Linked DNA regions of Homo sapiens: region 1 is linked to region 2. The links are contacts of gene promoters, found by promoter capture Hi-C in blood cells and fetal thymus (Javierre and others, 2016). All regions are on one chromosome and are shown on one strand. Each heading gives the region's core, a stretch centred on a gene start or on the middle of the fragment in contact. The rest is flanking DNA. Distances are from core to core; before and after follow the strand shown.

Region 1 (4,125 bases), core at 1,372-3,871, 440 kb before region 2:
TTCTCTCATGGTAACAATCCTAGCTGGTGGTCCTTCAAGGGATGATTAAATGTTCTTGCCCAAATCTAAGGCTCCAGAGTCAAGCCCATTGATACAGCCATGTGGAAGATCTGGCAACTACATTATTGTGCTCAGGAAGAACCTCACCTTCTGTGTGGAGGTTGTGGCCTTTCGACTGAGTGTAGGAGAAGTTACTTGTTCTATGTTCATATGCCCTGCCTGGACTCTAACAGGCTACACCTACTCTTAAAGGGGACCTTGTGCAACATTATGATGTAGCTCTGAATGCATCAGAGGTGAAGAGATAGAAAGGCATGTCTTCTATCTTTGCTTTTGGAGAGGTTGCGGAAATTCATTGCCTCCCAGGTAGCCTGCAATTCCACCTCTGAAAGCAGTACACACTCTCCATCTGTCCTATAGTATATAAATACCCTCTCCCTACCAGGATGATTACAGTTAACACCGTGATCTGCCCTGCTGTCACTGCGCAGCAGAATTTTGGTGGGTCTGCTGTCTACAAATGATTCCATATCATGATTTGAGTCCAATATAAAAATACTCAGTAAGCAGAGCGGCATCTGACTCAAGGTGGACCAAATACAAGGCCACACCTCCTGATCAACTGACCTGGGCTGCAAAAATAGGCAGTAGAAAAAGCTCAAAGAACTTCGGAGGATTGTCCTGGTAGGGAAGAGGAAACCAGTCCTCCAATAATGCAGTCCTCCAATAAGACAACCATGCCAACAGACAAAGCAGTTCTGTTGTCCATTTCTTCACGTGTAGGTGCCCTATGTGAGGTAAACCATACCCACTGATACAACAGGTAGCCGCCTGTGCCATACCCAACTATTCATCTCTACTCTGCCCTGCCCAACACATTACCCTCATTTCTCTAGAATACAGTGAAGATGTGAGATGAAGGCTATCCGGTTTCCAGGAACTATGGGAAGATAGAATCTGTTTACACAACGGTGGACTCTTCTGCATTAGGGAGCTTTGCAGATTGGGCTCTAGTCCAGCAGATCTGGTTACCAATTTGTCTCAATGCTGGAAACTCACAACCCTGCCAAGTCACAGAATCCCTAACCCTTAAATGCAACTGTTTCTTCCACATGCCCTTTGCAAAGGGCATGGAAACAAAGGTTGCAGCTGCCTGCAACCACTTTGTTTTGGCATTCACAAGGAATCACCCTGTTACCTAGTGTTGAACCCAGTACACCTGGCTCTCGTCTGTTTCCCAGGCTCTATACTTTGGCTTTTCATGTCTGCTTCTAGTCTTCCCTATATCAGGACCCGTTCGAACTTTTCTTCTCTGTTCGACTCTTGCCGAACAGAGTCTGGGCAAGAGGCCCAGGACTCTTGCCGCTAAATTCTGACTCTCAGATCTTCTTGCTTTGTTGATTATGGTGTTATTACTGCCTTGGGTAAAAGACTCCTTCTGCTAACTTCTGCCCCCATAAAACTCCTACAGGCTGGGCTAGTTCACTAACTTTTCCAATGAGAAGCTCAGATGCTGAAGCTTTATTTTAGCAAACCACTGACTGATGGGTCTTCAGCCATTCCTACCTATCTCTCCAGTACCTGGACTAGTGCCCAAGTATACAGCCAAATTTTGAGCAAGAGGTCCAGGAACTACCTCCCTCTCTCTCTCTTTTTTTTTTCCCCCAAGATGGAGTTTCGCTCTTATGCCCAGGCTGGAGTGAAGTGGCACAATGTTGGCTCACTGCAATCTCCACCCCCACCCCCCGGGTTCAAGCAATTCTCCTGCCTCAGCCTCCCAAGTAGCTGGGATTACAGGCACCCGCCACCATGCCTGGCTAATTTTTGTATTTTTAATACAGACGGGGTTTTGCCATGTTGGCCAGGCTGGTCTTGAACTCCTGACCTCAGGTGATCCACCCCCTCCTTGGCCTCCCAAAGTGCTAGAATTACAGGCGTGAGCCACGATATCCAGCCGAACTACCTCCCTCTCTAAAGAACTGATTGCTTCAATGCTGGGTTCCAGAGTTGCTGAGACACCAAATCTGGCAAACTTGCTGTTAGAGGAAGATTGTGTTGTTGGTATTGCAAATGCGATGCTTAAGTTCTCAACATTATCCCTCAATCCCCACCCCAGATGGTAGCTGACTACGTATCAATACTCTTTTAAGTAAAAGAATGGAGAACTCATCATGCTCATGGGCCAAAGGGGATTCTAAGTGCAATTCTGAAGTCAGACCAGCTGGGTCTAATTTAGCTCCACTACTTCCTGGCTATAGTATTGGAAATTATTTAACCTCTCTATATCTCAGTTTCTTCATTTGTAAAATGGAGATGATGATGAGAATAGCAGCTACCTCCAAAGACTATTGTGAGTTTTAAATGAATTATCACATGTCATAAAAGTGGTTAACAACTATTAGCTACTATTATTATTGGGCCAATTTGGAGAACTGGATATTTATAGAATTAAACTTCCAGGGCACATATAACTGTTTACATAAGAAGGATGATGAATAGAAAGTAACTTTGTAGACATACTTGGGCAAATTGAATAGTTGATGATGTCAGTCGGGGTAATACTCCAGGAGTTTTCCAAAGACTCAGAAATGGAATTCTCTACAGCTTCCTAGAAGACTAATTATTTAAGTATCTCAATGGCAGCTTAATTTACTTTTGCTTGATACAAGTCTCTATGTATAATCTACTCTCTCCACTGTATCTCTAAGTCAATACTCAGAATAATGTATTTTAAATCCTAGGGCAGATTATTGGGACTTATCTTATTGACTTGAATATTTGGATTATTCCAAGTTTTCTTCCATCTTTGAATAGTAGTTTCTGTAGAACATCAAACACGTTCAGAAGTGGTTCATATTCCACTCTTCCAACTTCACTGTCCTACTGATATACTACTTAAAGAAAAAAAAAGAAATAATAAATGTTATTTAAGAGCTTATCTTCCCATCTGCTGCCAGAAAAAGGGTGGAAGACACGGTATTGTTTCATTTTGGGTAGCTTCCTAACAGTTCAAGAACCTGTTCACCCTTTGCTCTGATCACGGACTTACCCACCCCTACATCTATATAATATATGCCCCCAACAGTGTGATAGGGGACCACCCTCTAGACAGAGAATCTCCCTAAAAAAGCCCCCCTTCATTTTGCCACCAAGCGTTCAATTCAAAATTTCTCATATACTTAACCTTTAAGGTTCCTGGGACTCCTTTGTAAAATTGTATTGTACCAAGACAGTGAAGAAGGGGCCGTTTGATAGATCAAAGGGAGGCACATCTGGAGGAGGGATGCTGGTGAGGAATAGATGAAAGAGGGTAAGTAGAAAATAACTGACCATGTGTACCTATGAAGATTAAACGGATGGACTGTCTAGTGAAATGATCTGTTATGTTAAAAAATGGATGGATTGGATAGCAAAGGTTTTGTCAAAGAATCTGAGCATTTTCTAAGGAAATGCAAATATTTCTGTGTCTAGCAATTTCTAAACTACTTTTTAGCATGTGCTTATATAGACACACACACACACACCTTGATTTAGGATTTTAGGATGGCTAAATATCTTTAAGCCATTGAGTAACAGTTTTTCATTCCAAATACTTTTAGTGGTTTGTAATATTTTCCACTTTGTCAGGAGTTTCACTAAGAGCTAACATGCATGTAGGAGCAAGTTATGAAAATGGGCCACACCTGCTTAGAAAAGAAACAAATCCTTCTTCCAGCAACAAACCAAGCTTATCATAAAACACAACACCTGAAAAACTAGTTGGGCTAACTGTGATGCATACTTCAGACACCTACTAGCTCTGCTCCTTGTAGCTATATAAAAGTCACTCTTAGAGTGACTTTTAAAAACATGCTGTAACACTTCTGAGTCACCAGAGAAGACAGGGTATCACAGCTAACCTGAAAGAGGAAGATCCTGGCAAGGTTAAGGATAGAAAGGAAATATTCTTGTCCTTATGCTTCTCAGTGAGAACTTAAAACTCTCTCCTCAGCAATTCTTAAGGGCTGTTGGCTCTCAGGAGGTAGAGAGTGACCTAGTTTTGAGGATGACATATATGGTATGACATGTTGCTCTTTTGGAAGGAGAAAATATAATTTTAAAAGTCAACCATTCAAAATAATTACA
Region 2 (3,874 bases), core at 139-2,638:
TCCAAAAGAACCCCAGCCAGTGAATCGAAGTAATATTTTCCGCAGTTCAAAGGTAAGGGCAAACTCAGCTCTACTAAGAACTCTTGCTCCTCACCAGCACACACCCTAACCCCCACCCCCTTTTTTTTCTTTTCAAATCTTGGCCTAGGAAAGATTAATGCTCCCATATCATTGCAAATCCACAAAAATGCGATTTTAGGTGGCGAGGAACTAAACTAGGATGGCAGGAAAGACCGGCAGCAATAAATCATTTCGCCCTAGAAACCAGCCTCTCCAGAACGCAGGAAACCAGGCTGTGCCCAAAGAACCTGCCGCCCGGAAGCAACAACTTCCATCAAACGGCAAATAAAAGTTGCAAAGAAGAGCTCAGCGCCCAGGCACCCTGCCCGGTGCCGAGGCTGAGAGCAGCAGGCAATCTACAGGCCGAGTCAGCTCGCGGGCGGTGGCCGCGGTGTCCGCAGGGCTGGCTCCGGCTCCGGAAGACTCCGGGTCCCGGGGTACGCCAACGGCCCGGGGCTGCGCGGGCACAGCGCCCGCACCCCTCCCCAGGACCGCGAGCAGTGGGCGGAGAGACCAGAGCAAGGGAAAAGGCGGACAATGCCCGGCTGGGCTGGCGCGCTCCGCCGGTCCCCGCCAGCCCTGCCCGCCGGGGCCCGCCAGCCGCCGCGCTAAGTTTGCTCCTCAGCCCTCCCTTCCCAGCCGAGGCGGCGGAGCCGTGGTCGCCGGTCTTCCTCCACCTCTGCCACCGCCTTCCTTCCCGCGGGGCGGCTCCCGCGAGTCGGTGGCGAGGCGGCGCGCGACCAGAGCAGGACGCGCGAGAAGGCGGCGCGCGAGGGGTACCCGGGCGCGCGCGAGAAGAGCCAGGCACTGGAGGGGAAGGGGACGTGCGGGAGAGACGGGCGCGCGGCGCTGCCGGCGGAACCGCCGGAGCTCGGGCGGGCTTTCGGTTGAGGCTGGGGTTGCGCCGCGGTTTGGTGTCCGTTACGAGCGCCGGCCCGGGCCGCGCCGCGCCGCTTGCCAGCCATCCTGGACCGCCTTCCCTCGGCGCCCACCAGGAAGGACAGCTGGCGAGGGCCGACGACCTCGTCTCCCGCCCAGGCTGGGCTGCCGGCGGCGGGCATCCCGGCGCCTGCCCCGGGGCTGGAAGAGAAAGTAAAATGAAGCGCCTTTCCCCAGTCAACACCTACCCGTTCCCAGTCCTAGTACAGCTGCCTCGCTCCTCCAGCGCCGCCGGTCCCCGCCCTCGGGCCCCTGGCTCCGTTCTCTTGACAATGGCGCGTCCCCTTTAAGGAATAATCCGATCGGAACCGATCTGTGGTTAAACCTCCCTCCGACTCTGATTTTAACCGGATTTCTCTCTCGCTCTCTCCCAGAGCCCGACGGGCGCCCGGCTGTGCTGCGAGGTCTTCCCACCCCTTCCCTACCCCGCCCGCCCCCTGGCCTTCCTGATTGGCGAGAAACACTACAACAGGAACAGCAGTCCTCGCCCTCCACTGGCCTGGCCAGCCGCCGCTCAAAGTTGCTCCTACCTTCTCCCCGCCCCTTTTCCCGGGTTGGTCTTCCCTCTAATCATTCTCTGCCCTCGCCTCTAACGTTGCTTTGGAGCCCTGGCAGTCAAGGCTCACCCTCCCGCCTCCGGAAAGCGAACTTTATTTTTATTGGTGAAAGGACATCTTCCTGTACACTTGATTGGGCAAGGAAAGAGCTAGTCTGCACGCTCCCTACCATTATTACTCTCTCTTTACGGGCTTGAGAAACACAGCCGCAAAGTCCTCTCCGCTTTGCCTTCTAGGAGCGACTTTACCTTTAAATGTTGTTAGGGGTCGAGGACAAACTCATATCCTATATTGAGGAAAGCTGGAAAGGGACAAGAGAAAAATTCAAAATTTTCTCCCGATCAGTAATGTATCCAGAGCTGGCGCCCGGATCCTGCGGAACCTTATCCAATGATCCAGAGAATGGAATGGTTAGAATTGAGTTAGAATACCTGAAAGTCCAGTGCTAATTCCTCCTGAGATTTACTCAACAAGTTTCATCCACTGTCCGCCCTACTCATACCATTGATTGCACTGGCATTTTGCCACCCGGAAGAGCTTTAATCAAGTTATCTGCAAACCTGGAGGTTTCCTTGCTTGTCTCGCAATTGTTCATTTAGAAAATCATTTCCATTACAAGTTCCGTTTAAGTCACGTCCTCTGTGACGTTCCCGCGTTTCCACGAGACCTGTTACTTTTTTGAAAAAATTAAGTAGATGGTACCCTTATGCCATCCTCAAAGTGTAGGACTTCGTTCCCCCTTGCTAGAACTGTAGGAAAAACACCCCAGGTCACTTGAACAACTGAGATGCCTCTCAGGAGAAAACGAGTCTGTCTAAGGGAAAGAGGGAATCTGATACCAGAAGCTTGACCATGGAGCAGAACCTCACGCATTGAAAAGAGAAGAAATTATGGGGAAGCCTAGTGCGGGGTCTGCTTTAGAGTTTCCCCAGTTTCCCACTGGAGCTGTAAGAACTAAAAGGTTTATTTCCACTAAAATTGAGTACAGGTACAGCTTCGGTACCCATCTAAGAATGTTAGGGGAAAATGGTTATGTGTTCTCTCCCTCTTTGCCGATGAACCTTGAAGACTGTGTACCCCGGGGGCTTTAGTACATTTGCAGTGATACCCCAGTATAATCTAATGGTGCCAAGGAAGTGTCAGTGCTCAGCAGTACCCTAGAAAAGGGGCTTGATGATGACAGAGAAGGGTAAGTAAACATCAGTAGTTGGTAGTTCATAGGACTTTTCCCCAAATACAGGTGAAAAATTTCATGAGGATTCCCGAAAATATGAAAGAGCAGGAAACAAAAGGGAACGTTGCAGGAAGGTGGTTTAGGTATCACTAGTGGGGGCAAGAGACGATGAACTATCTGGGTTGCATTTATATGGCCTTCACAGATACACACATCCTCCCTATTAAGTCCCTATAACTAAATCCCTATGCTTAGCCTATTCTGATTTTACTGTATAATAAAACTGCAGCCAAGCTAAACTAATACTTCTGGTTTACTCACTTACCACTCTCAAACTCTGAGACTGCTTCTGGGTTCTAATATTCTACATTAGAATATAAGAAGAAGAAGATACTATGTACTGATATCTAGTATGATCTTCTGGAGATAAAGATATCCAGTGTTTCAGGCATGTACACACCTGCAGCTTTTGTTCAAGGTCTAAGTGATGTTTTCAGGTTCTTTCTAAAACACCTGCCCTATGATATCCAGCTTGTTACTGCCCTCTTTTGCTGCACTAGCAGACTGGGCATATAAACTAGAGAAGGCAGTCTACAGTAACCTCTAGATTCTCTTACTTGCATTGAACCAACTATGCTGAGATTATCACCTTTCAAGTATAATTTGTGTTATTCTTTTCTCTAAATATTTCATATTTGCCCACAATAGGATCATTTATCACTTTTTAGCCCACACATGCAACTTCCTGGTACTAATACTCCTACTGGCATTTCACAGCAAAGAAGAATTTTAAAAATCTACAAACCTGGAGCTTACAACGTAGAGGTTATTCTTAAGAATGTTCAGTGTTGATGAACACAGCCCCAGTTCTAACCCTGGAGAATTTTACAAGTTGTACTTTCTCATTCAGAGAGACTTTATCTCTCTACCTTAGTTTCTCATTCTAAGCCCAATCCCCACTCTTTAAAAAAAGAATATTTCTCGGCTGGGTGCAGTGGCTCACGCCTGTAATCCCAGCACTTTGGGAGGCCAAGGCAGGTGGATGACTTGAGGCCAGGAGTTCAAGACCAGCCTGGGCAACATGGCGAAACCCCATCTCTGCAAAAAATACAAAAATTAGCTGGTGGGAATGGTCACAGGCCTG

What was found. The method cuts DNA at HindIII sites, captures the fragments that hold promoters and counts their contacts. A CHiCAGO score of 5 or more calls a contact.
Region 1: a contact is called between a fragment that was not itself captured here and the fragment with the promoter of FRYL in region 2, in 3 of 17 cell types (activated CD4 T cells, fetal thymus and naive CD8 T cells). The highest score is 5.8, in activated CD4 T cells.

Annotation. Positions count from the first base shown.
Region 1 is chr4:48,334,134-48,338,258 of GRCh38, forward strand. No RefSeq gene overlaps it. Among named protein-coding and RNA genes, the nearest start is that of SLAIN2, 5.3 kb to the right of the region's middle. The HindIII fragment of the contact is 2,208 bases long and covers 1,518-3,725 here.
Region 2 is chr4:48,778,891-48,782,764 of GRCh38, forward strand. It overlaps FRYL (FRY like transcription coactivator), which reads right to left and starts at 1,389. Exons shown (of 64, transcript NM_015030.2): 1 at 1,188-1,389. RefSeq lists silencers at 355-1,234, 1,325-1,434. The HindIII fragment of the contact is 8,638 bases long and covers 1-2,399 here.